Linked DNA regions of Homo sapiens: region 2 is linked to region 1. The links are contacts of gene promoters, found by promoter capture Hi-C in blood cells and fetal thymus (Javierre and others, 2016). All regions are on one chromosome and are shown on one strand. Each heading gives the region's core, a stretch centred on a gene start or on the middle of the fragment in contact. The rest is flanking DNA. Distances are from core to core; before and after follow the strand shown. Region 1 holds the start of TMPRSS12 (transmembrane serine protease 12). Region 2 holds the start of LIMA1 (LIM domain and actin binding 1).

Region 1 (5,764 bases), core at 967-3,466:
GTAATTGTAAACAACTTCTTGGGTGAAATTTTGCTATAGAGGAAAGTAGGGGATATAAAGTCAATTGAAGATTTTTCTAAGGTGGGAGAAACCAGATGTATTATCTGTTGCTGCGTAACAAATTATCCCAAAATGCAGTAGCTTAGAACAACAAAAATTTATCTCGTATTTTCTGTGGGTCAGAACTTTTAAGTGTAGTTTGGCTGGGTGTCTCTGACTTAAGGTCTCTCATGAGGTTGCAGTTAGGGTGTCAGCCAGCACTGTGGTCTCATCTGAAGGTGTGATCGGGGAAGATCTGCCTCTAAGCAGATCATGCGGTGTTGCATGATTCAGCTTTTCGTGGCTGTTCAACTGAGGACTTCAGTTCCTCAATGGCTCTTGCTGGCAGCCTCTCTACAGGGCCACAGGGCAGCTTACAACATGGCAGCAGCTTTACCTTAGAGCAACAGGACTGCAGAGAGTGCTCAGGACAGAAGTCACAATCTTTTTATAACCTAATCTTGAAAGTGGTAGCCCATCACCTCTACTTTCTATTTACTAGAAGTGAGTCACGAAATCCAGCCAACACTAAAGGAGAGGGAACTGACTAAGGCTGTGAATACCAGGAGACAGGGTTCATTGGCGGGCATTTTGTAGGCTACCTACCATACCAGAGGATATTTGTCTGCAGATAGGAGTGATCCCACCAAAGACAGGAAATGACAATGCAGGAGAGGAGAAAAGGCAGAGGAAATCCAGGAAGAAGACCTCTGCAGTTATTGATCCACTGCCTTTTTCATTTTATTTGGAGAGATGGGGTCTTGCTTTGTTGCCCAGGCTGGAGTACTGTGGCTATTCACAGGCATGATCTCACTACCAATCAACACAGGAATTTTGATCAACTCCATTTCCAGTCTGGGCCAGTTACCCCTCCTTAGGCAACCTGGTGGTTCCCCACTACCCGAAGGTCACCATATTGATGCCAAACTTAGTTGACCAGTTGACATAGCATACTACAGTCCAGAACTCCTGGGCTCAAGCAATCCTCCTGCCTCAGCCTCCTGAGTAGTAAAACTAAAAAATATATTGTTTAAAGCAGTGCTGTATAATAGAACTACAGGCATGTGCCACCGTGCCCAGCCCACTGCCTGTGTCACTGCTATTTGATGACTTGGCTGCATATACTTGCTTTATGAGTATGTTAAACCTCTACTATCTGTCATAGCAAGACCCGTCATCCTTATCACGTTGGCTATGGGTTTAAAAAAAGAAAAAAAAAGTCATCTTGCCTTGTTTACAAAGGCATACACAATCTGACCACATCTCACACACACAGAAATACACACACCCCAACTGTGTTTTTCTCCTCCTAATATCACCTTCCACTAAAATATCTGGGGAATAAGGACTTTGTTTCTTGTCAGCCCTCAGAGATCAGCTCATGCTGCAATTTGTTTCTCCAATATCACCTCCTCCACCCCAATTTCGGCACAGCTCTGAGACTCTGCTCCCTTCCCCACATGTTACCATGTGTAAGCCCCAAACTCATATACTCCTTTTATCTAATGCTGCCAACTGCACCAGCCTCGGAAGGATGGTATGAGCAAGGCAACTGTCCTTTTATTGACCTCTACGTTAACTCTCCACCACCTCACCAACTTCCCACAGCCCACACGGTCTTCTTATTACTGAAGGTGTTGGGTTAACAAAGGCAAAGTTCAGTATAGGTCAAGATAGGAATGACAGAACAATTTAAAACTGAACATTAGGTATCACTCTTAAAAACTCTGGGTTATGTTAAAGAAAAATTATTCAGTGATACTCATTAAAGCACAGCAAGGCAGACTTTATTCAGGACCATCCAGATAGGGATAGGGACCATGGCAATGGGATTTTGTAATGGGTAGAGGGACTGGGCTAAAATCCAAACAGAGCAGAGCCAAGGGAGAATTTACAGCCACGGAGCAGGAGAGACGTGTCAGTGGATGGAAAATTACTAAGAGGTAGCATCAGGAGTAATGGCATTCCGGCTAACCGACCTAACAGGATTCTTGCTGGACAGGCCAGGGTGATCAGACATCACCTGGGGGATAGTGGTGGATGAGGAAGCCGATCAGACCTTGAGGGTGAGGGGTTCTTTCTAAACTGACCTACCTATTCCTCGGCCGCCTCCCACACCTCCGGGCCTCACTCGCGCCTCCCCGCCAGGCCGTGCGCCCCGCGTGCCCAGGGCGGGTGGGAAGTACCTGCCGCCATCTTGCTCACCAGCCTCCAAAATGCGGCTGGGGCTCCTGAGCGTGGCGCTGTTGTTTGTGGGGAGCTCTCACTTATACTCAGACCACTACTCGCCCTCTGGAAGGCACAGGCTCGGCCCCTCGCCGGAACCGGCGGCTAGTTCCCAGCAGGCTGAGGCCGTCCGCAAGAGGCTCCGGCGGCGGAGGGAGGGAGGGGCGCATGCAGAGGGCAGTACCTGTTCGTGCCTGTCTCTGGGGAGCCTCTCTTACCTTTTCCCCACCGCTATAGTCTTTGAATTCGGGTTTCTCCTTTTCTGTTGTCCCAATGGCCTTTAACCAAAATTTTACATACCTAAGCAGTTTCTAGACCGGCTGTAATAACAGTAGTTGTAATAGTGAAATGACACATTTGTATTGTGAATCTGTATTTTCTCCTCAAAACATTCTGGGTTTTATCATCCCCATTTTATAGATTAATAAGTCAGGGGATAAAGAGTTGAAAGGGAGGGCTATTAGGTGACCATTTCATACTATAGTTGAGAAAAATTAGCCCAACAAGTGAAATGGTGAGCATTAGAATTTGCGGCTCTCGACTCACCGTTCCCAGGCTCTTTAACTGCTATTTCACACAGGGAAGAATGTGATACGTGGCCAAAAATTTTTATTTTTATATTTTTGGGGAATAGAGTTTTAAAATTAATGAATTGTGTTGACTTCATGTCTATTTGTAAGTAATCGATTATGGCATATTTGTCTTAACTCTCCAAGTTTCTTTCAAAATATGGGCGTGTCTCCGGTATGTTAGCTTGCTTTGTGTTTTTAACATAGGAATTTAAAGGATTGCATTAATATGTTCAGCTTAGGAAGTAACACATACTATAGATGCTCAGTCCAAATAATATATCATTTTTATTTTTAGATTGTGGAACAGCACCGCTTAAGGATGTGTTGCAAGGGTCTCGGATTATAGGGGGCACCGAAGCACAAGCTGGCGCATGGCCGTGGGTGGTGAGCCTGCAGATTAAATATGGCCGTGTTCTTGTTCATGTATGTGGGGGAACCCTAGTGAGAGAGAGGTGGGTCCTCACAGCTGCCCACTGCACTAAAGACGCTAGGTACGTATTCAGAACACAACTATTTTTATGCTCTTAGGGGATATTTTGAAGTGATAGAGGACCATTTAACTTCAGCCATTTTCAGCTAAGCTATGTTTGCAAATAGCCATAATGCCTTATATATAGTACAGTGTATTTGTTGAAAGGAATCCTTTATTTATTATTATTATTATTATACTTTAAGTTCTGGGGTACATGTGCAGAACGTGCAGGTTTGTTACATAGGTATACATGTCCATGGTGGTTTGCTGCACCCATCAACCCATCATCTAACTACATTAGGTATTTCTCTTAATGCTATCCCTCCCCTAGCCCCCTACCCAGGAATCCTTTATTTTTTACTTTTTTTTTTTTGAAATGGAGTGTCACTCTGTTACCCAGGCTGGAGTGCAGTGGTGCAATCTTGGCTCACTGCAACCTCCGCCTCCTGGGTTCATGCGATTCTTCTGCCTCAGCCCCCGGAGTAGCTGGAATTACAGATGCCTGCCATCATGTCCAGCTAATTTTTGTATTTTTAGTAGAAAAGGGGGTTTCACCATGTTGGCCAGGCTGGTCTTGAACTCTTAACCTCACGTGATCTGCCCGCCTCAGCCTCCCAAAGTTCTGGGATTACAGGTGTAAGCCACCATGCTCGATCATGGATCTTTTAAATTAGAGGCTGGTAAACTTCCTATAAAGGTAGTAAATATTTTACACTTTGAAGGTCATATGGTCTCTCTCACAATTGCATGAAAACCAGCACTGAAAATAAGTAATTGAATGAGTGTGGCTATAATCCAATAAAACTTTATGAACACTGAAATCTGAATTTCATATGTTTAACGTGTCATGAAATATTGTGGTTGATTCAGCCATTTAAAAATGTAGAGTAGGGCATGTTGGCTCATATTTGTTATCCCAATGCTTTGGGAAGCCAAGACGGGAGGATCACTTGAGGCCAGGAGTTTGAGACCAGCCTGGGAAATATAGCGAGACCCTGTCTCTATATTTAAAAAAATTGTTAATGTAAAAAACATGCTTTATGGACTGTATGAAAACAAGAGACATGCCAGATTTGGCCTTCACTATTAGACTCTTTGAAAAAGAGACTCTCTTTGCTTCATCTCCATTGACCCATAAAATCCAACTGCAGTCTGATTTTTGTGGCCAAATGCTGTTAAAGATCCACTTCCATGCCAAATCCAATGACTTCATCTCAGTTCCCATCCTTTTTGACCTCTACAGCCTTTGGCAATGTTGACCACATTCTCTTCTTGAAATTATCTCTTTTCTTGATTTCTAAGACACCATTCTCTACTTTTTTCTCCTGCTTCTTTGATGAGTCTTTGTCATCCTTTACATTGCAGTGTTTTCTAGAGTTTGCCCTCTGCCCTCTGTCATTCTGTACTCTTTCCTAGAGATGTCTAATCTACCTCTGTTTCAGCAATCACCATGTGCTGTCAACTCCTAGGTCTCTCCTGATGAGTCATATTTCCAGCTTTATTGGAGTCACATTTTAAATAAGTCCAAAATGGAATTTACTTTCCTCTGATACTATTTCTTCTCTATTTTCTCAGTTGATAGCATCATCAACAGCTCCATTACCCAGAGAGTTATCTAATTTCTCCCACTTCAGCTATCCAAGTAGTCTCCAAGGCCTGTGAAGGCTCTCTGTGCAGTATCTTACATTTGCTTCTTCTGTCCCTCCACCCTCCCTACTGATTAAAAGTACATCCAGAATATCAGTCTCTATATTCCTAGCTTATGACTTATCATACTTATATTTACACTACTACTTTGATAATAACTATCCTAATTAATATGAAATGGTAGCTCATTGTGGCTTTTATTTCCATTTCCCAAATTACTAGTGATGTTAGGCATCTTTCTATGTGCTTATTGGCCATTTGTATATCTTCTTTGGAGGAATGTCTATTCAAGTCCTTTGTCCATTTTTGAACTGGGCTCTTTGCTTTTTTGTTGTTGAGTTGTAGGAGTTCTTTATGTATTCTGGATATTAATCTGTTGTCAGACACATTATTTGCAAATATTTTCTCCCATTCTGTGGGTCATCTTTTCACTCTCGATATTGTCCTTTGATACACAAAAGCTTTTAATTTTGATGAAGTCAAATTTATCTATTTTTTTTCTTTTGTTGCCTGTGTTTCTGGTGTAATATGTAAGAAATCATTATATCAAATCCAGTATCACGAAGCTTTTCCCCTATGTTTTCTTCTAAGAGTTTTATAGCTTTAGCTCTTAGATTTAGGTCTTTGATTCATTTTGAGTCCATTTTTGCATAAGGTATCAGGTAAGGGTACAATTTCATTGTTTTACGTGCAGCTATCAAGTTTCCCCAGCACCATCTATTGAAAAGTTTGTCCTTTCCCCATTAGATGGTATTGGCATCTTCATTGAAAATCAATTGATCATATAGAGAGGGTGTATTTCTGGGCT
Region 2 (5,764 bases), core at 1,241-3,740, 560 kb before region 1:
ATGGAATTAAGAATGCCTGAAACTAGTTTCACTGTCAATTTAAATAATAAATTCTTCCAATTTGTGGTTAGGTGCCCTATTATGCCAAAGATGTCTAATGAACTCCCACACTCTCAATATTCTTTTGTGTCTGTGTGTGTGTCTTTGATAAATTTTTTTGGTACGAGGGCTCTAAGTTAATTGCAGTTAACTGGTGAAAAATACCAGAGAAAATATAAGAATTTGAAACCTGAAGAAACACTAGTCAAAATTATACTTAAAAACATTTTTCCCCACCCACCTATCTACCCTGTCTTCCCCACCCAAGAAAAAAAGAAAGAGAAAAACATTTTGAGGGCATCTTAGCAGGAAAAAGTATCCCCTGTCACCAAGATGTGAATTGTTTTAGCTTCTGAAGCTTTCTTTTAGAATTATTAGGTTGAAATTTAGCCCCACCTTTAACCAGAGTCTGGAACAAAGCTTGAGTGTACCAAGTTAAAGAAAGTTATACAATGAGGTAATTTTTACAAAATGGCACTCCTTTGCTAATGTTGCCAATATACTGTTCTCTTCCCAGGGACTACCTGATAACAACACTTCCCAGCCCAATACAGAACAGTGGAAACAGATCCAACTATTTACTAAATGCCACATTAACAACAGGGTCTAATCCCATTTTCCATAGGCCATAGAATTGGAGGAAGAGAGGGTAAGAAATATGAAAGTGATACAAATACATAGATTGAAGAGAATCACTCATTATTACTCAGAGGTTTTTGTTTTTAAGGAAAAGCAGAAGAGAGAATTAAAAAACAAAACAAAACACCTATATTCCCTATGCTCCTACAGTACCCTGGGCTGACCTCTAGTATAGAAATGACCTCACTAATACCATAAATTGTATGTGGATCTGTCTAACCCATTTGATTTTAAGTTCTTTTAGGGTAAAGACGTTTGGCACTTTGAATCTACAGTAGGACTGACATGAAAGGCACTCAATATTTTGTCCAAAGAATGAAATAAGTTCCTAAACTAATTACCTAGTACATTATATGTTGTTCTATCAATGCAAAACAAGAAAACATATATGAACACACACTTTTTTTTGCCTTCTTTCACGCCAACTCTATAATTTTTTGAAGATCTATCTAAAACGTGATCATCCTGCACCCAGGTTATACCTCTACAGGAACTTAGAACATGTTGTTAGGGGTCATGTTCTTTTGTGTCTACATCATACCTCAGAAGAAAGGATTGGTGTTATTTCATGGCTCCTGAAATATTTAGCATTTGTGAATAGTATTGGTAACCAAGCAGATAAAAGGTACTGTGTTAAACCATTTAAATCAAGAGCAAAAGAAAGAATACTTAATGCAAAAGAAAACCTCTCCCCAAAATGGGCATTGCCTTAAAAACTGATAACTCCCTAATTACCTTTGACTAACCTGAAAAGTCAAGTCAATTGAACCATCTGGATTAGGCAGATCTGGATTAGGCAGACTTATCTTTTATTTTTATTTATTTATTTATTTTTTTGTAGAGACAAGGGTCTCGCTAAGTTGCCTTGGCTGGTCTCAAACACCTGGGCTCAAGCGATCCTCCCGCCTCAGTTTCCCAAAGTGTTGGGATTATAGGCGTGAGCCACTGCGCCCGTCCAAGGCAGACTTTTGAAAGCTGGAATTAGGTGCAAGACAATAGTAGTTCAAATATCTCTCACCAGGATCAGCTAAACCGTTCTTGCAAGCATCAGTAAGGAGGCTAGGAAGGGTGCCAGATGGTTCGTTCCTAGCAGCTACAACTTCAAGCTTTAGTATGTGTAGCCAGGGGTGTACAATTACCTTACATTAACACCAACATATGTCGGGGGCAAGTGCCAGCGATATATACACGATAGCGATTCGGGGATGACACATCGGCTGCAAGGACTGCTATATTCTCAACATTCCTCAAAAGGGTGTAAGTGTCTTAAACAGAGTTCAGCTGGCGTAATGGAAGGGAGAAAAAATCGAAAAGAGAGGGAATGGCTGAAAATGAAGGAAAAAGAACAGTTGAATATTACAGTATTTCCCTGGAAGGAGGGTATTTGGAGTTTTAATGAATTGTCACCTTCCTCCACCACACCAGAAAGTATACAGTTAGAATGCAGTGTTCTCGGTGGGAGAGGACGGGGTATTTGCAGCTCCCGCCCTTGGGCAGCAAAGGCTCAGCCCGACATAAGCACTCCCCACCCAGCGCAGGCCCCAGAAGTGAGGAAAGAACGGAGGATCAGCGTCCCTCGACCCCTTATCTCGAGGGGGAGGGACTCACACTCCTTGCACTCCCCCCGCCCCAAAAGTCGAAGGAGAAAGAGGGTGTGGAGAGAAGCCGGGGTCTTCCCGCACTCTCCGGTTGTGGAGAGAGAAGGCCCTTACCTGGCTAAAAGCCGCCTTTCCTCTGCGCTGCTACCAGCCCTGTCACAGGTCCCGGCGCTCTACCTAGCGCACCTGTCGCGACCAAGCTGCTAACACCTACTGCTCCTGCGGCCCCGCCCCGGACCCCGCCCACCGCCGCGGGGGCGCGCACGCCAGACAGCCTCCCGTGCGGCCTCGGGCTGAGCGTGCGCGCCACCGGCTACGTGCCCAGCGCTCGCGTCTGCTCCAGTCGCTCTGGCGGTGCGGGGCGCTGGCGACGGGACAGGGTTTTTGCTGCCCGGGGCCTAGTCTACCTCGGCACGCTTTTCTCTGAAGGAGACACGCACTTGCACGACGTGGGCCTCTGTGCAGCTCTACTTTGTCCTTAACTCCTCTGACTCAACGTTATCGCAGTTTGACTCTGGAGCCACTCAGGTTTTTCCTAAGCTCAACTCTAGCCAGCTAGGTTCCTGGTGCTTTGGGGGTAAGTTGTGTGCAGGGAGGGTGTTTTACAGGAGGCTGTGTGGTGTAGTGGAAAAAGCTGAATTAAGTACATTAATCCTGAAAACGGTTTGACAAGGGCAGATGACGTCCAAGTTCTCCAACAGCTGTTTTTACTCCTCCATTCAGAATAGGAGCTGTGCTAATGGTTTGGAGACCGTCAATTGGCCTAGCACTTGGCCATCCTGCCCCCAAATTCTTGTCCCAGTTCCGTGCCAGCTGCATGATGCCTTTTGATAGTATCCTTCTTTCCTGTACCTCAAGCATAGTAGGGTTTCAGACCACAAGTTTTCTGAAGCTTTTCGGAATTCATGCAGCTTGATGCGTTATTAGTAGGGGCTGCTCGTGGGAAAACGCTTGTAATTACACTTCCTCAAGAAGTTAATGAAAATGTGTGAGAAGAGAGATTTCCAACAGGTGATGAATATGCCAGCCAGTTATTCCCTTCTTCCTTCAAATATCCAGCCTAGACTGATTTCTGGATAGGTATTGTAGAAATAAAAATTTCAGACAAAACAAACTTAGATTTTGAATCGGACAACAGTCAGAACCAAAAGAGGCTCAGACACCCCTGCTCTAGCTGCCCAGGCATCAAACTTTATAGGCTGAACACGAAAGTAAAGAAATTTGATTGGCTACAGCTAAGCGTTTGCCTTATTTGGGTATGGTCACATGGGAGGTCCCTAATTATATAACCACTTGGCTGGTTGTCTGTTTGTGATTGGTTGAAACTCCATTCAAAATCAGGTACAAGGGGCCGGGCGCGGTGGCTCACACCTGTAATCCCAGCACTTTGGGAGGCTGAGGCAGGCGGATCCCCTGAGGTTAGGAGTTCGAGACCAGCCTAGCCAACATGGCGAAGCACCGTCTCCACTAAAAATACAAAAATTAGCCGGACGTGGTGGTAAGTGCCTGTAATCCCAGCTACTCGGGAGGCTGAGGCACGAGAATGACTTGAACCCGGGAAGTGGAGATTGCAGTGAGCAGAGATCTCGCCACTGCACTCCAGCCTGGATGAGAGAACGAGACTCCATCTCAAAAAAACAAAACAAACAAAAGGTGCAAGGAATACCTCTAAATTTTGGGTTGCTTTCTGGGTACAAAAACAACTCCAAACTAATGGCCTGCTACTTATTTTGCATTAACAGTATCAAGTATCAAGACTCCAGCAAAAGTGGCAGACAGCATGGGAATGCTAAAGAGCATACAATATCAATACAGGATAGTACTCCAGAAAATACGTTACCCTGCATGTGGCGTTCCCTCAATAGATGTCTCCCCTCCCCCCAATTTTTTTTAGCTCTGTGCTTTAGTGGATACAAAAATTACTTGCTTTCCCAAAGCCTCCTTTTGAAGATAGAGCTAGCATTAGGTTGATTGCTAAATTTTCAGGGATTTTATGAGCCAGGTCATAAGCACAACCATTATTAGAAATCAAATTATATAAGCTACAATTAAATTATCTTAAAAATAAAAGTAATAGGCCAGGCATGTTGAGTCACATTTGTAATCCCAGTGCTTTGGGAGGCTAAGGCGGGAAGATGGCTTGAGGCTAGAAGTTTGATGTTGCAGTGAGCTATGATCACACCACTGCACTCCAGCCTGGGCAACAGAGTGAGACCCTATTTCTAAAAAAAAATTTTTAAATATAATAAATATTAAAAACTCATCACTTTGTAGTTTTTTTCTTCATTTTACTAATAATTCTGCTCTTGAGGTTATTTGTCCATTGTATTCCCTGTGGAAATACTACATATGTTGTATGCATCTCTTCCCAACTCTATTCAGAAATGTCACATTGGTAGCACGAAATTGGCTGTAAGGGGAGTATTTACACCATGGAAATGGGCAAATGCAGCAAGTCAGGGCGTGATTTATTGTTTTGTTGATTTTTCTAGACCATATGTTAGCAAACCTTTTGTGTAAACAGCCAAATAGTAAATATTTTAGGCTTTGTGGGACTTATAGTCTCTGTCACAGCTACTCAGCTCTCACTGTAGTGCCAAATGTGCCAAAGTAGCCATAGACAATACTTAAAGAATGGGCATGGGCCAGGTGCAGTGGCTCACACCTGTAATCCCAGCACTTTGGGAGGCCCAGGCAGGGATCACTTGAGGCCAGGAGTTAGAGACTAGCCTGGCCAACATGGCAAAACCCTGTCTTTACAAACAAATAAAATAAACAGACAAAAAAGCTGGGTGTGGTGGTGTGTGCCTGTAATCCCAGTTACCTGGGAGTGTGAAGTGGGAGGATGCCTTGAGCCCAGGAGTTGGAGATTGTAATGAGCCGAGATCACACCACTGCACTCCAGCCTGGGCGACAGAACAAGACCCTGTCTCAAACAAAAAACTCATAGGCCTTTATCTGATAGTGAAGGGAACAATAGAGTTGAAAGGGAAAAATGGAGTAGATACAGGCAAATGTTTACATACATGATACGGTGCAACAAGAATAGCAGAACATACTGCAAAAGAAATTATGTCAACATATTTAAGAATCTTGGAAGAGAATGGCAAATATGCACTATAATTGATGAGACATCTACATATTGGAAGAAAATTACCTAGAGATTTATCTCCAGTACACAGTTGAATAAGCTTCTGTACTGGTAAAGATATTTGTTGCTTTAAAAGAATTGGTGTCAGCTGGGCACGGTGGCTCACGCCTATAATCCCAGCACTTTGGGAGGCTGAGGTGGGCAGATCACAAGTGGGCGGATCACGAGGTCAGAAGTTCGAGACCAGCCTGGACAACATGGTGAAATCCCATCTCTACTAAAAATACAAAAATTAGCCAGGTGTAGTAGTGTGCGCCTGTAGTCCCAGCTACTCAGGAGGCTGAGGCAGGAGAATCGCTTGAACTCCAGAGACACAGGTTGCAGTGAGCAGAGATCA

The links. The method cuts DNA at HindIII sites, captures the fragments that hold promoters and counts their contacts. A CHiCAGO score of 5 or more calls a contact.
Region 2: a contact is called between the fragment with the promoter of LIMA1 here and the fragment with the promoter of TMPRSS12 in region 1, in 4 of 17 cell types (M2 macrophages, neutrophils, erythroblasts and 1 more). The highest score is 7.5, in M2 macrophages.

What each region holds. Positions count from the first base shown.
Region 1 is chr12:50,840,710-50,846,473 of GRCh38, forward strand. It overlaps TMPRSS12 (transmembrane serine protease 12), which reads left to right and starts at 2,217. Exons shown (of 5, transcript NM_182559.3): 1 at 2,217-2,442; 2 at 3,133-3,328. The coding sequence starts at 2,256. It also overlaps the pseudogene RN7SL519P. The HindIII fragment of the contact is 6,106 bases long and covers 1-5,415 here.
Region 2 is chr12:50,281,030-50,286,793 of GRCh38, forward strand. LIMA1 (LIM domain and actin binding 1) reads right to left here and starts at 2,491. Exons shown (of 11, transcript NM_016357.5): 1 at 2,391-2,491. LOC107984505 (a long non-coding RNA gene) reads left to right here and starts at 2,592. Exons shown (of 2, transcript XR_001749144.2): 1 at 2,592-2,853. RefSeq lists a silencer at 2,402-2,711. The HindIII fragment of the contact is 1,384 bases long and covers 1,783-3,166 here.